Regions from separate parts of the Homo sapiens genome. Here all the other regions are linked to region 5. Evidence: promoter capture Hi-C in 16 types of primary human blood cells and fetal thymus (Javierre and others, 2016). All regions are on one chromosome and are shown on one strand. Each heading gives the region's core, a stretch centred on a gene start or on the middle of the fragment in contact. The rest is flanking DNA. Distances are from core to core; before and after follow the strand shown.

Region 1 (2,700 bases), core at 144-2,643, 1.3 Mb before region 5:
CTTACCCTTTAGATGGATGTCTGCTCTCCAGTTTGCCACAGTCCCCACCCTTCCCTTTTGTACTACTCCTGGCCAGCTTCACTCAGTCACTTTCCTTGCATGGCTTCTGTTGGCATTGGTGTTTGTAGCCCCTGGTGTAGACGTCTTGGGCACCTCTGGCTGTGGGATCTGAAATACTGATAATCCCGATAATGATGCTGCTGCTGCTGATGATGATGATAGCAACCCCACTTCCAGTCAGAGCTGTGTTTTTGGCATTGTTCTTAGTTCTTGATCCACAGCCTCTCCGCAGGTCTTTGTCACTACAGAGTACTGCTGTCGTTATGCCCATTTTACAGATGTGGATGCAGAGTCTCAGAGAGGTACAGCTGCCGGCCCCAAGCCATACAGCTTGGCTTTGCCGTGACCCTTCAGGCCTTGGTCTTTATATCAGAGTCCATTATGTGTGGTTGTGGCTACCTTGAGACTGTTAACCTCTTGAGGGCAACAGCATTTCAGGTTCTTACCTCCCTGCCTGACTCTAGCTGTCAAGTTTTGTTCTCAGATATTTGTGATGTGATGTTAGGGAGCCTTGGATTCCGCCGGAGGCCCTGTCTGTAGGCACTTCTGGGTGGTAGGCATGGGATCAGCATCAACCGTAATGGTCAGTTCTGAAGGTTGCTGGGGTTGAACAGCCTTCCGTTCACTGTCTGGGTTTGGGATTCCAGCGAAAGCCTTCATACCCTCAAGAGAATGGTGGTGTGTGGCCGGGGGCTCCTGGGCCTCATGCTGGAGGCTGGAGAGTTAGAGAATTGGGGCATGACCAGCTCATGTTGTTCAGACCTGGTCTGGTGTTTGTGCCTCGTGTGGTGTGGCGGGTTTTGGCATCAGAAAGCCTGTATTTAGGCTGTACTTCCCCCTTCCCAGTGTGCCTTTGTGGGCCACTTACCTCACTTCCCCGTTGCTCATAAACGTTAGCTCACTTCCCAGTTGCTAAATAGTTGCCAATAAACAACAGCAACTATTATTATTCATATTGATGAGTGGAATTACTTGTTGACTGGACCAAGGGGCGGGAGAAACCCCTCGGACCTTTCGCACATCGCAGGGTGTTGGAGTGGTTATGGGCCTGGAGTGGAGGTCAGTCTCTGGCTCTGCCACTCGCTGTGTGTGATGCTTTACCTGTGAGTGTGCCTCAGTTTTCTCATCTGTAAAATGGGATTAACAGTACTACCACTGACTCTTAGGAGAAATACGTAGCACAGAGCCTGGCACAGGGTAGCTGCTTCCTGAATGCCTGCTGTTCTGATTTTTTGTGTTAATGCTGAATCTTCACGTGTGCCCGCATAGTAGGCATTGGTCTCCCTTCCAGAGAGGAGACTGAGTGGCCATGGGAGCAAATACCTCAGTGACTGGACACTAAGTAGTTTCCAGGCAGAGAGCAAAGTAGAGGCCTCCAGCCCTACAAGCAGTGTTCTGGAATTCAGGGGCCTGCTGGGTTTTCCGAGGGCCTGTGAGTCATGTGCTTTAGAAAGGAGCCTGAGAAACTCTGTCCCCAGCCCCGCCCCGTGGACTCCCCCTCTGAAGTGATGCCTGGCTTCCAGGCTCCAGCGGCTGGTTGCCAAGGAGTCCAGCTGCCATCCCCTCCCACAGCTGCTAAGCAGGCATCTGGTTGCCAGGTGCCACCTCCTTGGACATCTTGGCTCTCAGAGCGCCTGTCTCGGCTGTCTGAGGGGGGCGGGGTCCATGGGGGACATTGGACTTTAGAACCTGGGAGGCTGTTGGGGTGTAGGGGCCAGAGCAGCCCTGAGGTTGTGGTCCAGGATGACCCGGACTCTAGCTTCACTCTTTTAGCCTCATTCCTCATTAGATGCCCCTGCAGGAGGCTGGGCAGGACTTGTGTCCCCATTTTACAGAGGGGGAAAATAAGCCTCAGGGGGTGAGGGGAGTCTCCAGCTGGGCCTTGGGGTCCTCTACCGTCCAGGGGAAAGGTCACTGTGCTCACCTCCATTGGTGAGGATGTGATGCTTGTCTCTTCCCCCTGCTTGTTAGATGTGAGAGCCCTCCTTCCTCAGGGCCTTGCCTGCTGAGCTTACAACAGAACCCTGTCTCCTTAGCTGCACCTCTGGCCCCCACCTACCTTCTTGCCCAGATTTCCAAAACCGCCTGTATTAGTCCATTTTCATACTGCTGATAAAGACATACCCGACACTGGGCAATTTACAAAAGCAAGAGGTTTAATGGACTTACAGTTCCACACACCTGGAGAGGCCTTAAAATCGTGGTGGAAGGCAAGGAGGAGCAAGTCACATTTTACATGGATGGCGGCAGGCAAAGAGAGAGCTTGTGCAGGGAAACCGCACCTTATAAAGCCATCTGATCTCTTGAGACTTATTCACTATCACGAGAACAGCACGGGAAAGACCTGCCCCCATTTAATTACCTCCCATTGCATCCCTCCCATAACATGTGGGAACTCAAGATGAGATTTGGGTGGGGACACAGCCAAACCATATCACCCCCTGCCTGAGTCCCCTTTCCCAGTCCTTACTCTCACCTGTTCACTCTGCTCCAGCCATTGTGGTCTCCTTGTTGTCCCTGTGCACCAAGCAGGCCCCTGCTGCCCCACTGCCCATGGTGTGCTCTCCCTTGGTAACCCATGGCTTACCTCCTTACCTCATCTGGGTCTCAGCTGGACGTGTTCTTATCAGGGAGGCTTTT
Region 2 (2,700 bases), core at 59-2,558, 1.5 Mb before region 5:
GTCAGGAGTTCGAGACCAGCCTGACCAATGTGATGAAACCCCGTCTCTACTAAAAATACAAAAAAAAAAAAATTAGCCGGGCGTGGTGGCATGCGCCTGTAATCCCAGCTACTCAGGAGGCTGAGACAGGAGAATTGCTTGAACCCGGGAGGCAGAGGTTTCAATGAGCCAAGACTGCACCATTGCACTCTAGCTCTAGCCTGGGCAACAAAAGTGAAACTCCCATCTCAAAAAAAAAAAAAAAAAAAAAAAAAAATTAGCTGGGCTTGGTGATACCCTCCTGTGGTCCTAGCTACTAGGGAAGTTGAGGCAGGAGGATTGCTTGAGCCCGGGAGGTCTAGGCTGCAATAAGCTGAGGTCTTGCCACTGCAGTCCAGTATGGGTGACTGAGTGAAACCCTGTCTCCAAAAATAAAATAAAATAAAATAAAATAAAATAAAAATAAATAAATAAAACCACATAATAGAATGAAACCTAAAATGATTAAGTTGAGATGCTAGGGTAGGACTATTTTTAAGTTTAAAAAAAAGTGAGGGGTTATATAAATATGCATGTTATAATCCCTCAAAGTTAAAATACTACATAGATCCCAGAATCTTAATACTCTTTTTTGAGACAGGGTCTGGGTCTGTTACCTAGGCTGGAGAAATGCAGTGGTGTAATTCTGGCCCACTGAAACCTCTGCCTCCTGGGCTCAAGCCATCCTCCTACTTCAACCTCCCAAGTAGCTGGGACTACAGGCACACACCACCACACCTGGCTAATTTTTGTGTTGTTTCTGTAGACATGGTTCCAGTGTTGCCCAGGCTGGTCTGGAACTCCTGAGCTCAAGTGATCCGCCCACCTTGGCCTTCCAAAGTTTATTCTTTGGGAATATTCTTTAAGGAACTATTTGTCAACAAATCCTTTTTATATCGCCTTGCAGATATAGTCTATAAAACCGAATTCTAAGCTTATCCTTAATTTGAGAAAATAAGAGAAATCAGGGACTTTTAGAGAACATTTTACAGGTATTCATAATTATCAACAAGATCAAGCTCTAATTATCTTATGCAACCACAAGTAAAGGTACTTTGACACTCTGAAATATTAGCAATATATAAATGCAAAAAGTGTTACTGATCTAAAAATGACTCAAACTAGAAACAAAACATTCATTTTGGCCAAGTAGGGTGGCTCATGCCTGTAATCCCAGCTCTTTGGGGGGCCAAGGTAAGCAGATTGGTTGAGTCCAGGAGTTTGAGACCAACCTGGGCAACATGGTGCCATCTCTACAAAAAAAAAATAAAAATTAGTTGAGTGTGGTGGTGCACGCCTGTAGTCCTAGCTACTCGGGAGGCTGAGGTAGGAGGATAGACTGAGCCCAGGTCAGCCCAGGCAACACAGTGAGATGGTGTCTCCAAAAAAAAAAGGGAGGGAGAAGATAAGAATTCATTTTTATCACCTTTAAATGAGGGGGTGATACTTTTCTTTCTCCACGTAACTATCTTTGGAAATCTCTACCAATACACAATTAAGAAACTTAAAAAAGCATCACAATAAATCAGTTATGGCAGACATCTAAATTTCCAAGTTCTTCTTGTTGAATGAATGGCCAGACCTAAGTCTAGCATCTTCCCACAGGCCCTCAATTACAGGTGGAGATTTCTGGAATAAAAGCTTTGTTTTCCAAAGCCATCTCACAGACATCTGTGACATAAGCTGATCCAAGATGTCTGCCTTTTTCTTAGATATGTCCTCAACACATTAGAGAACCATTCCCGAGGCCTTACATTTGGGAAGAGGGAAAGAGATCCAATGAATGAAAACTATCTGGCACCCACACATGAAGAACATATCCCAACACCTCAACCTACCCTCTGCTTTCTAACCATAGGAATATACCACTTAGAATCAAATCCAAACTCCTTACATTGCCTACAAAGCCTTCTATGATCCGGGTCCTGGATATTTCTCCCTTCTTCATGTAACACTCTAGGAACCTAAGATATTCCTTAAATATTTCAATATTCCAAGCCGGTTCCTGTCCTTGAGCCTTGAGCCTTCTATTCCCTCTACCTGGAATGTTCTGCCCCTCACCTTTTAATGGCTGGTCTCTACCCAAATGTCACCTCCTCAGAAAAGCCTTCTTCACCTGTCACATAATTCTGTCACTATCTGAAATTATCTAATGTTTTTTCTTTCGCCCACGAGAATACATGGTCCTCAAGGGAAGGGACCTTGTCCATTTTTGTTTTTTCACTATATTCCCAGAGATTAAGTGGATGCTCAATAAAGTTATTAAATGAATAAAGAAACAAATTAATTCCAAAACTAGAGCACTGCTCTTGCATCCATCCAATCCTGTCCCAGACCCCAACCAGCAGAAGTAATCAGAAGGGGAGAGAGACTTCCCTTGCACTGATGGTAAGAAGTGAAAGATAAAGGGTTGTAGGAGCGGAGAGACGAGGTCCATTAGGATCCTCTGAAAGCATGTCAAAAAAAAAAAAAAAAAAGAGAGAGACACACACAGAGAAAGGCCAAAGATATGACTATGTGGGCCCAAGGTGAGAAAAAGAGCAATTGGTGGAATCCAAGACTAAAGGGTCCCCTTCTGTGCCTCCAAGGAAGAATAATACTTGTGCATCTACCATGTGGCAAGCACAGGTGGGATGGCACCCACCAGGGAGAGAGAAGTAAGCAAGACAGACAAGGTCCTTG
Region 3 (2,700 bases), core at 6-2,505, 1.8 Mb before region 5:
AAATACATTCATCCTCATGTATGGGCAGGAAAAAGAAATCAGGGAGGCTGGGCTTGCTGGCTCACACTTGAAATACCAGCACTTTGGGAGGCCAAGGTGGGTGGATCACGAGGTCAGGAGTTTGAGACCAGCCTGGCCAACATGGTGAAACCCCATCTCTACTAAAAATACAAAAATTAGCTGGGTGCAGTGGCAGGCGCCTGTAATCCCAGCTACTCAGGAGGCCGAGGCAGGAGAATTGTTTGAACCCAGGAGGCAAAGGTTGCAGTGGCTTAAGATCACACCATTGCACTCCAGCTTGGGTGACAGAGACTCCAACTCAAAAAAAAAAAAGAAAGAAAAAAAGAAACTTCAAGTCACTCCAATCCATACAAAGTTAAAGACCCCAGGGGAAATAGTAAGAAAAAGGTAATATCCCATTCCCCTAGAGGGCAGAATAGAATTAAAGCCTGTAGTTGAAGTTCTCATTCAGGACTGATTCCCTGAACCCTGTATGTCCCCCTATTAACACCCCAGTATTACCTGTAAAGAAATCAGACAGGTCTCATCAACTAGTACAAGATCTCCAGGCTATCAACCAAATAGTCCAGACTACCCACCCTGTTGTCCCCAATCCTTTTACCATCCTCAGCAGAATTCCATGACAATCAATGGTTCAGAGTAACAGATTTAAAAGATGCCTTCTGGGCATGTCCCTTGGCTGAAGACAAGAGAAGTATTTGCTTTTGAGTGGGAAAACCCTCATTCTGGATGGAAGCAGCAGTACCAATGGAGAGTCCTACCCCAAGGGTTTACAGATTCACCTAATTCAGTCAGGACTGCCTCTCAGAAAGATACTGGCCTATCTCTCTGTTATGTGGACTGCCTTATTTACACTCTTACTACTGACATTCCTACCTTTGAAACAAAGGATCAAATTATATACTTGGCTTTCCACTTTCTCTTACCTCAGAACTAAAGGTATTTTAGCACAGATGCCACCCTTACAGTTCCTGGTACATCAATACCAGCCTGGAGATCACATCCTTATCAAAAGCTGGAAGGAGCCAGCTTGGGAAGGACCATACCTAGCACTCCTAACTGAAACAGCAGCCCGAACAGCCGAAAAGGGGTGGACCCATCATACCCCAGTCAAAACAGCATCACCATCTTCAGAGTCATGGGCTATTGTTCCAGGGCCAATTTCTACCAACCTAAAGCTACGAAAACTTTAACCCTCTTATACTGCCTTGTCTTCTTTCCTCTCTCTACCGTCAGCTATTTTATCATTAATGTAACTAGATCAAGCTCACCTCAATCACATTTGATGCCTGTCTTGTCATATCCTGTGGGGATCTCCAAAACCAGAGGCAACTGGCCTTCTCAGAAAAATATCTCTGCCCTTCCAAGATAAATTCTAAATCCTCACACAATGCTTGCCTAATCGAAACTAAATCCATTACATTCTTTGCAGTTTGGGAATGGGAAGGGTTTGAGGAGAGGTTCTGCCCATCCCGGAATGACGTCCTATGGAATACCGATCCTCAAGGGTAGACTTCCCCAAAAAGCTGCATCTCTCTACAACCCTACCTTCGTTTCAAAGGGAAGGCCCCCTCTAATTGCCAATATCACCAATGTAACCCAGTGCAAATTTCTATTCTTACCTCTACCTCCACCAATCCTAATCCCACTTTAAGTAGCTTCTACAGCATGGGAGCCGCAACATTAGGGATAGACCCTACAGGATCTTTCGAAATGCGCTTCATTGTTCCCCCACCCCCTTCATCCCCTTCTAAACAAACACCCAATGACAAAACCAAAGTGACCATTGTAGAGGTTAAAGATCTAAAGCAAACTCTACCAATTGAAACGGTACCGAGATGCAAATGCATGGCTGGAATGGATTAAACATTCTGTCCGCTCGCTAAACAAAGCGATTGTTATGCTTACGCACGTGGTAAGCCAGAGCCCCAGATTGTTCCCTTTCCACTCGGATCGTCCTCCAGCCGATCAGGCATTAAGTTGTATGGCAGCTCTCTTCCAAGACCCCACAACCTGGGGCAATAAGCTATGCCAAACTCTCTCGCTGCTGTTTCCTGAAGTCCCCTGAAGTCCGACACCCTGCGGGTCAGCCCCCGAGGGCCATCAAGCATCCGTCTTCCAATGCCAATTTTACCTCGTGTCTCTCACAGGGGGAGAACTTGAATTTGCTTGGAGACCTAACGAGATGCAGTGAGCTTAAGCCCTTCCAGGAGCTTACCAATCAGTCGTCCCTTATTCATCCCCAAGCAAACGTATGGTGGTGTTGTGGTGGACCATTACTGAATACTCTGCCAAGTTACTTGGCGTGGCACTTGAGCTCTAATCCAATTGGCTATCTCCCTTTCACCCTGGTATTTCATCCAGAAAACATACATAAAAACAGAACATCATAAAACAATGGATGTCCCTCGTGACTCTCATGTTTATATAGATGCCATTGGAATCCCACGAGGAGTGCCAGATAGATTTAAGGCCCAAAATCAAATAGCTGCAAGTTTGAATCCATGTTGTTCTGGTGGTCAACTCTAAATAAAAATGTAGATTGGGCCGGGAGTGGTGGCACACGCCTGTAATCCCAGCATGTTAGGAGGCTGAGGCGGGTGGATCACAAGATCAGGAGTTTGAGACCAGCCTGACCAACATGGTGACAGCCCCCAGCTACTCAGGAGGCTGAAGGAG
Region 4 (2,700 bases), core at 96-2,595, 1.7 Mb before region 5:
GCTTCTTCTTGTCATTCCATTTCTGGGAAAGTTGCTGGCAGAAGCTTCCCTTGAGTTGAGCAAACCTATCTAGAGCACTTGCTGTGTGTTGGGCTCTGAAGGGGGGTGTACGGAGATGGAAAAATTTGTCTGTCTTGTCTTGCTCTACACCTCGATAAGTTTTTTTTCACGGAAGCTTTGCTTATATTCACCCCTCCCTGTTGGCTGACTTTCCTTTTAAGCCCTTGCCCCGCCTCCGTGTTGCAGTATTGCTTGTGTGGAAGTTTTCTTCTGTTCCGCGAAGATACGTGCTTCAGTCTGTTCTGCCACTGTTCTTCGGCTGTGTGGAAGTTTTTAAGGTCACACTTCTCTTCTGCTTGTAGCTTTCATTGTTAAGAGCGTGGTGGAGTTAAATCAGGTTCCCGGTTGATTTTGGCGTTTCAGGAATCCGTGCTTACCAAGTGTAAATTGCATTGCTACTTGTTGAGGTAAAAACTAAAAATACAGTTGGAGTGTAGAGGGAGCAGTTTCGGTTATCCTGGTGACAGGTGGGATTTTTAGAACAGCAACTTTACTAAAACATACTGGGTTTTTAAAAATTCTGTACTTAGTTTTATAGGTGTACTCTAAGGAAATGCAACTTATGGGTGTTCAATTTTATATGAGTAAGGAGTGTGTGTTTACCTGAGTGATCCTCCTGTATCTTAGGATTGTTTTAGGCATTAAATTTCCTTAGTGAACTGAAACTATTTTGATTTATACCCATCTCTTAACACACATGCGGCAAAGTGGCCTCCTTGTTTTTGACATTTTCCTAGAATTTTCTGACAGTCTTACCATTGTTTGTAATTTAAAATGTTTGTTTGAATTTTTTTTTTTTTTTGAGACAGTCTCACGCTGTCGCCCAGGCTGGAGTGCAGTGGCGCGATTTCGGCTCATTTCAACCTCTGCCACCCTGGTTCAAAAGATTCTCCCGTCTCAGCCTCCCGAGTAGCTGGGATTACAGACGCCCGCCACCGCGCCGTGTTAATTTTTGTAGTTTTCGTAGAGACGGGGTTTTGCCATGTTGGCCAGACTGGTCTCGAACTCCTAACCTCGTGATCCACCCTCCTAGGCCTCCATAAGCAGGTTAGGCGCGGTGGCTCACGCCTGTAATCCCAGAACTTTTGGGAGGCCGAGGCGGGTGGATCACGAGGTCAGGAGATGGAGACTATCTCTTGAGCCTGGTGTGGTGGCGGGCGCCTGCAGTCCCAGCTACTCCCGAGGCTGAGACAGGAGAATCGCTTGAACCCGGGAGGTGGAGGTTGCCTGGGCGACAGAGAGAGACTCTCTCCAAAAAAACAAAACAAAAAAAACACATAAGCAAACAACTATACAAGCAGTATAAAGCATGTCTAATACTGCCATATCACAATGGCATATTTCAATAGGGAAATGGTATTTTAAATACCATTTTTTAAAAACCTTTTATTCTGGAAAACATGCGAAACTCGAATAGTATGGAGAACCCCATGTGTTAGTCACTCACTTAGCTTTGACAATTATTAACTCATAGCCAAGGTCGGTTTTGTTTCATGTTGTATCCCCCCACACAAACTAGATTATTTTGAAACAAATCTTAAACATTGTGTCACAACATTAGCGATTTTGACTTTTACCAGATTGCCCCAGATTAAGGTCACAAAATTTACTTTTAGTAGAATAATAGTTCTCATTTTTGTTTGTTGGGCTTCCCTTCTCTGTTTATACATGATTTCTGTACAGCAGAAAAGAAGAAGAAAATTAACTCTTGATCCAATGCCTTCAGCTCCTCAAAATCAAAATACAACCTTGCTGCTTTATTGTGTACAAAAGCAAAAATTCTTGAGCTATTAATGACTATAATTGAAAAGCGAACAAATACAGATTTCCCCAGTCCTGTTTTGGCAGAGACCTGCCTTTTAACCCACTTTAATAGAGATAACTTTGTGTCAAAGTTAAACTACAGTTAATAATTCATAATGAAAACTTAAAATGTTTCTTTACAGTAGTTGTGTAAAGATACTGCTGTTACCTTAGGTTAAGAATTAAGCAAAAGATAATCTTCTAACATAGAATTGTTTTCCAAAGTGCCCCCGTCTGCCCTATTTCCAAATAACAAATTTAGCAAATATGAATGAAACCTTAATTTTTGTGAATAGTATGAAATCACAGCATAAGTGTTCACGTTTTTCTTTCTTGTGTCTAAAGGATCTCTCTTACAATGGAAGTTGACAGGAATATTATAAATATTATAAATGTCTTTGTTGCATAACTTTCAAATTTCTGGTCGTGAATAGTTTTCAGCTTTTAGGTCTGTTATTTGAGTTTTGTAGGTGTACTTTGAGCTTGATCAGGTACAGTGGAAATGTTACATGTTATGTTTTAGTTATGACTACCTGGAAGATGGGGAAAGATACACCTCTTAAAATTGATTTAGGAAAGAAACGCCAATTTAGTATCTGGGAAAGGACACAACACATTTTTAAAAATGTGTAGTGCTTCCCATTAAGCTTAACGTAAAACTTTTAAGCATTGAGAATTGTTACCATAAATATAGTTTCTTGAGAATAAGTTGCTCTCTTTTAGGTTTCAGCCAGAAAGTCCATGTATATACAGATTACAGCAGGTCCTTGAATAATGTTGTTTCAAGATAATGTTGAGAAAAAAAACTGTCTGTGGAGTTTACACGTTCTCCCTATC
Region 5 (2,784 bases), core at 34-2,533:
TCAAAGAGATGCAGCAATCTTACTCAATACTACTACCACTCTCACGCATCTCATTCAACTCCATTTAAAACCACTGCAGCAAGACAGCTGGTACTCTCCTTCCTGTTTCTTTACCGTACAGGCTTAATAACAAAAACAGGTTGGTTTTGAAGCCCTGCTCAAATATTGCAAAAAGGAAGTCTTCGCATTCGGGAGGGGGAAAAAAGTTTCGACTTCGAGAGAATCTCATAGCTTCCGTGTCATTCCATTTGGGAATCCCAGATCCTGCCAGTGAGGTAGATGCTCGCTCTCTCGGTTAACTTTTCCACCCTAGATGCCCTCAAACTGCCTAGGAAGCAACTAAGTCTCCCAACGACCCATGGCTAGTTTTGTTAAGGCAGGTACAAGACAAGCAGTTTATTTAAACCATGACGAACTGGGTCGATGTTCATAAAATGAGAGATGGGGAGAGCAAAAAAAAAAAAAAAGTAGTAATAAAGACAGCCAAACTCCTAATTTTATCAACCAACTTCCCACTTGCCATTTCCCAGCCTTCACACCAGAGGTAGTAAAACGCCTTTTTACCGAGAAAACTAAGAAGCTACCCGAGCCCAACATGAAAATTCCGCGGACAATTCGTGTTAAAATATTTTTTAAATGCCCAAGTGAGGAGGAAACACAGCAACCAAATCTCACCCGGCTGGGAGGCTGGGGTGGGGGGGGTCCCCGCGGCTTTTCCCTCCCGTGCGTCCCAGAAGCTGCTAAGGAGCCGGGGCAGCAGGAGGACGACGCGGGGAGCTTTCAAAAGGGCTGGGGGAGGCAAGAGGAAGAAAAAACTTTAGGGACAGAAGGGGAAAGTGGGCCCCTGCAGTCCCCCCGCAAACTCCTCGGGTGACCCCTCCGCGCGGGGACCCCCTCGGATCCCCAAGCGGACTGCCACCCAGCTTCGTCTCAGCTCCTACCGCCGCGGGCCGCCCCCCGGGCTGAGGGGAAGCGGCGCGGCCCCGACACCCCGAAACTACCTCAGCGCGTCCCCCGGCCGGCGCGCCCCTCAGTGCCTTGGCAGATCTGAAGCCGCTGGCTCTCGCAGCCTGGGGAACTCGCCCCTCTTCCCTCCGCCTCGCACTCCACCCCCTCGCCCGCCACCGCCTCCTCCTTTATCTCCACTCACCTCCCGCCGCCATTTTCCTCGCAGCTCAGCTTTAAATCGGAAACTCGCCGCTCAGCCCGCAGCCGCCGCCGGCCGCCACCGACTAAGCCGCAGCCGCTGCCGTCGCTGTGGAGCGGCTGAGACAGCAGCAGCTAAAGTCGCCGCACGGGGGCCACTGGGATATGTAGTCCCGAGGCCACGCCCAGCACTACCGGTCCCAGGGGGCCTTGCGCGGCCGGCCTAGGGTTCCAGCGACCCCCACCCTGGCTTCCGCGGCGGAGGGCGTGGCGACGTGGGCTCGTGCGGCCGCTTTCGCCCAGCATCGACTGGGAGCTCCCTCGGGATCCGGAGAACCGGAATGCAGTCCTAGCCCTGCCCTTAATTTTTTTCATATTTGCCTTCGTCCAGTAATACCTAACATTTGTGGAGCGTTTCTGGTATGCCAAGCACGGATCCTCAAAACAAGCATCCGGTAGGGACCATGATCATCCTCATTTTTCAGATGAGCGAACTGAGGCACAAGGTCGGAAGCCACGAGGCTGTTCCTTAGCTGCTAAAGTCACTGGGTGAAATGTTGTTGGGCAGCAGTATATTCAGGGTATATTTAGTCCCGAAGTATCATCCCACAGCGTATTTATGACTTACAATAAAGAACAGCTTGCTTTACAATGGAAAGATCTGGCAGGCACCCCCTTACCAAGTGATCGAACTTAGCACCACCAATAATGGGTCAGGACTGTTGTTATGTGTCTCCTAATATGATGCAGTGGGGAAAGCATATTGCTACCTCTGTCGTATTCTTGCCACATACACACAAAAAGCTTACTTGAAAAAATAAACGAATTCAGAATGTGGGACATTCTACACAACATCTAGCCTGGAGTCTTTTAAAATATGACAGCATGAAAGAGGTGAAAACCAAAAGCAATAGGTGAGACTTGATTGGATTCAGGATGATTTTTTTATGTAAAAAGAATTTGGGGGGCAATTTCAATGTGGACTGTATGTTAGATAATATTGAGTCAGTATTAGATGTGTTGAGTGTAAATAAAATAGAATAATCTGACCACTTACCACCTCCACGGTCAGCACCATCATTTCCCACCTGGACCACTGCAACAGCCTCCTCAGTGTTCTGCCTGCTTCCACTCTTTCCTCTTAGAGTCTATACTCAACACAGCAGCCAGAGGAATCCTGGTAAGAACCAAGTCAGTCTCTGTCCCTCCTGCAAAATTCTTGCAGTAACCTGCAAAGCCCCATACAGCCCGTCTCTTGCCCTGCCCTTCCCTCTCTAAACTCATCACCTTCTTCTCTTCCACTCACTTCTGTAACTCAGCTACAATGGACTCGGCCTCTCCAACGTGCTTAGCACACTCTGGCCTTAAAGATCGTGCACTTGCTATTTCCTCTGCCTAGAACAGTATTTTCCCAGAAAATTCAAATAACCCATTCCCTAATCTCCCCATGGTCATTGTCCAAATGTCACTTATTCAGTGAGGCTTTCCCTAACTGCTCTATTTTAACTTCCTGCCCACTCTGATCCCAGCTTTCCCTACTCCTATTCCTTTCTTCATTTATTTTCAGAGCATGAATTATCATTAAAATCATGATATATTTCTGTTTACTTATGTTATTTAAAATATCTCATTTTGGCT

What was found. Contacts are between HindIII fragments. The CHiCAGO score rates a contact against its expected background, and 5 or more counts as called.
Region 1: a contact is called between a fragment that was not itself captured here and the fragment with the promoter of NCOA3 in region 5, in 1 of 17 cell types (naive CD8 T cells). The highest score is 5.4, in naive CD8 T cells.
Region 2: a contact is called between a fragment that was not itself captured here and the fragment with the promoter of NCOA3 in region 5, in 1 of 17 cell types (fetal thymus). The highest score is 10.0, in fetal thymus.
Region 3: a contact is called between a fragment that was not itself captured here and the fragment with the promoter of NCOA3 in region 5, in 1 of 17 cell types (non-activated CD4 T cells). The highest score is 5.1, in non-activated CD4 T cells.
Region 4: a fragment that was not itself captured here is called in contact with the fragment with the promoter of NCOA3 in region 5 in 1 of 17 cell types (fetal thymus); the score reaches 9.4 in fetal thymus.

The regions. Positions count from the first base shown.
Region 1 is chr20:48,775,362-48,778,061 of GRCh38, reverse strand. All of the region lies in intron 1 of PREX1 (phosphatidylinositol-3,4,5-trisphosphate dependent Rac exchange factor 1), which reads left to right. Among named protein-coding and RNA genes, the nearest start is that of PREX1, 51 kb to the left of the region's middle. The HindIII fragment of the contact is 6,678 bases long and covers 1-2,700 here.
Region 2 is chr20:49,047,942-49,050,641 of GRCh38, reverse strand. The region is part of intron 1 of CSE1L (chromosome segregation 1 like); the gene reads right to left. Among named protein-coding and RNA genes, the nearest start is that of CSE1L, 3.0 kb to the right of the region's middle. The HindIII fragment of the contact is 707 bases long and covers 955-1,661 here.
Region 3 is chr20:49,282,237-49,284,936 of GRCh38, reverse strand. All of the region lies in intron 3 of ZFAS1 (ZNFX1 antisense RNA 1), which reads right to left. Among named protein-coding and RNA genes, the nearest start is that of SNORD12, 2.9 kb to the right of the region's middle. RefSeq lists an enhancer at 498-1,430. The HindIII fragment of the contact is 3,903 bases long and covers 1-2,700 here.
Region 4 is chr20:49,184,506-49,187,205 of GRCh38, reverse strand. The region is part of intron 1 of STAU1 (staufen double-stranded RNA binding protein 1); the gene reads left to right. Among named protein-coding and RNA genes, the nearest start is that of STAU1, 2.5 kb to the left of the region's middle. RefSeq lists an enhancer at 59-128. The HindIII fragment of the contact is 2,335 bases long and covers 178-2,512 here.
Region 5 is chr20:47,500,386-47,503,169 of GRCh38, reverse strand. NCOA3 (nuclear receptor coactivator 3) reads right to left here and starts at 1,283. Exons shown (of 23, transcript NM_181659.3): 1 at 1,151-1,283. RefSeq lists a silencer at 924-1,043 and a cis regulatory region at 2,295-2,367. The HindIII fragment of the contact is 2,001 bases long and covers 1-1,952 here.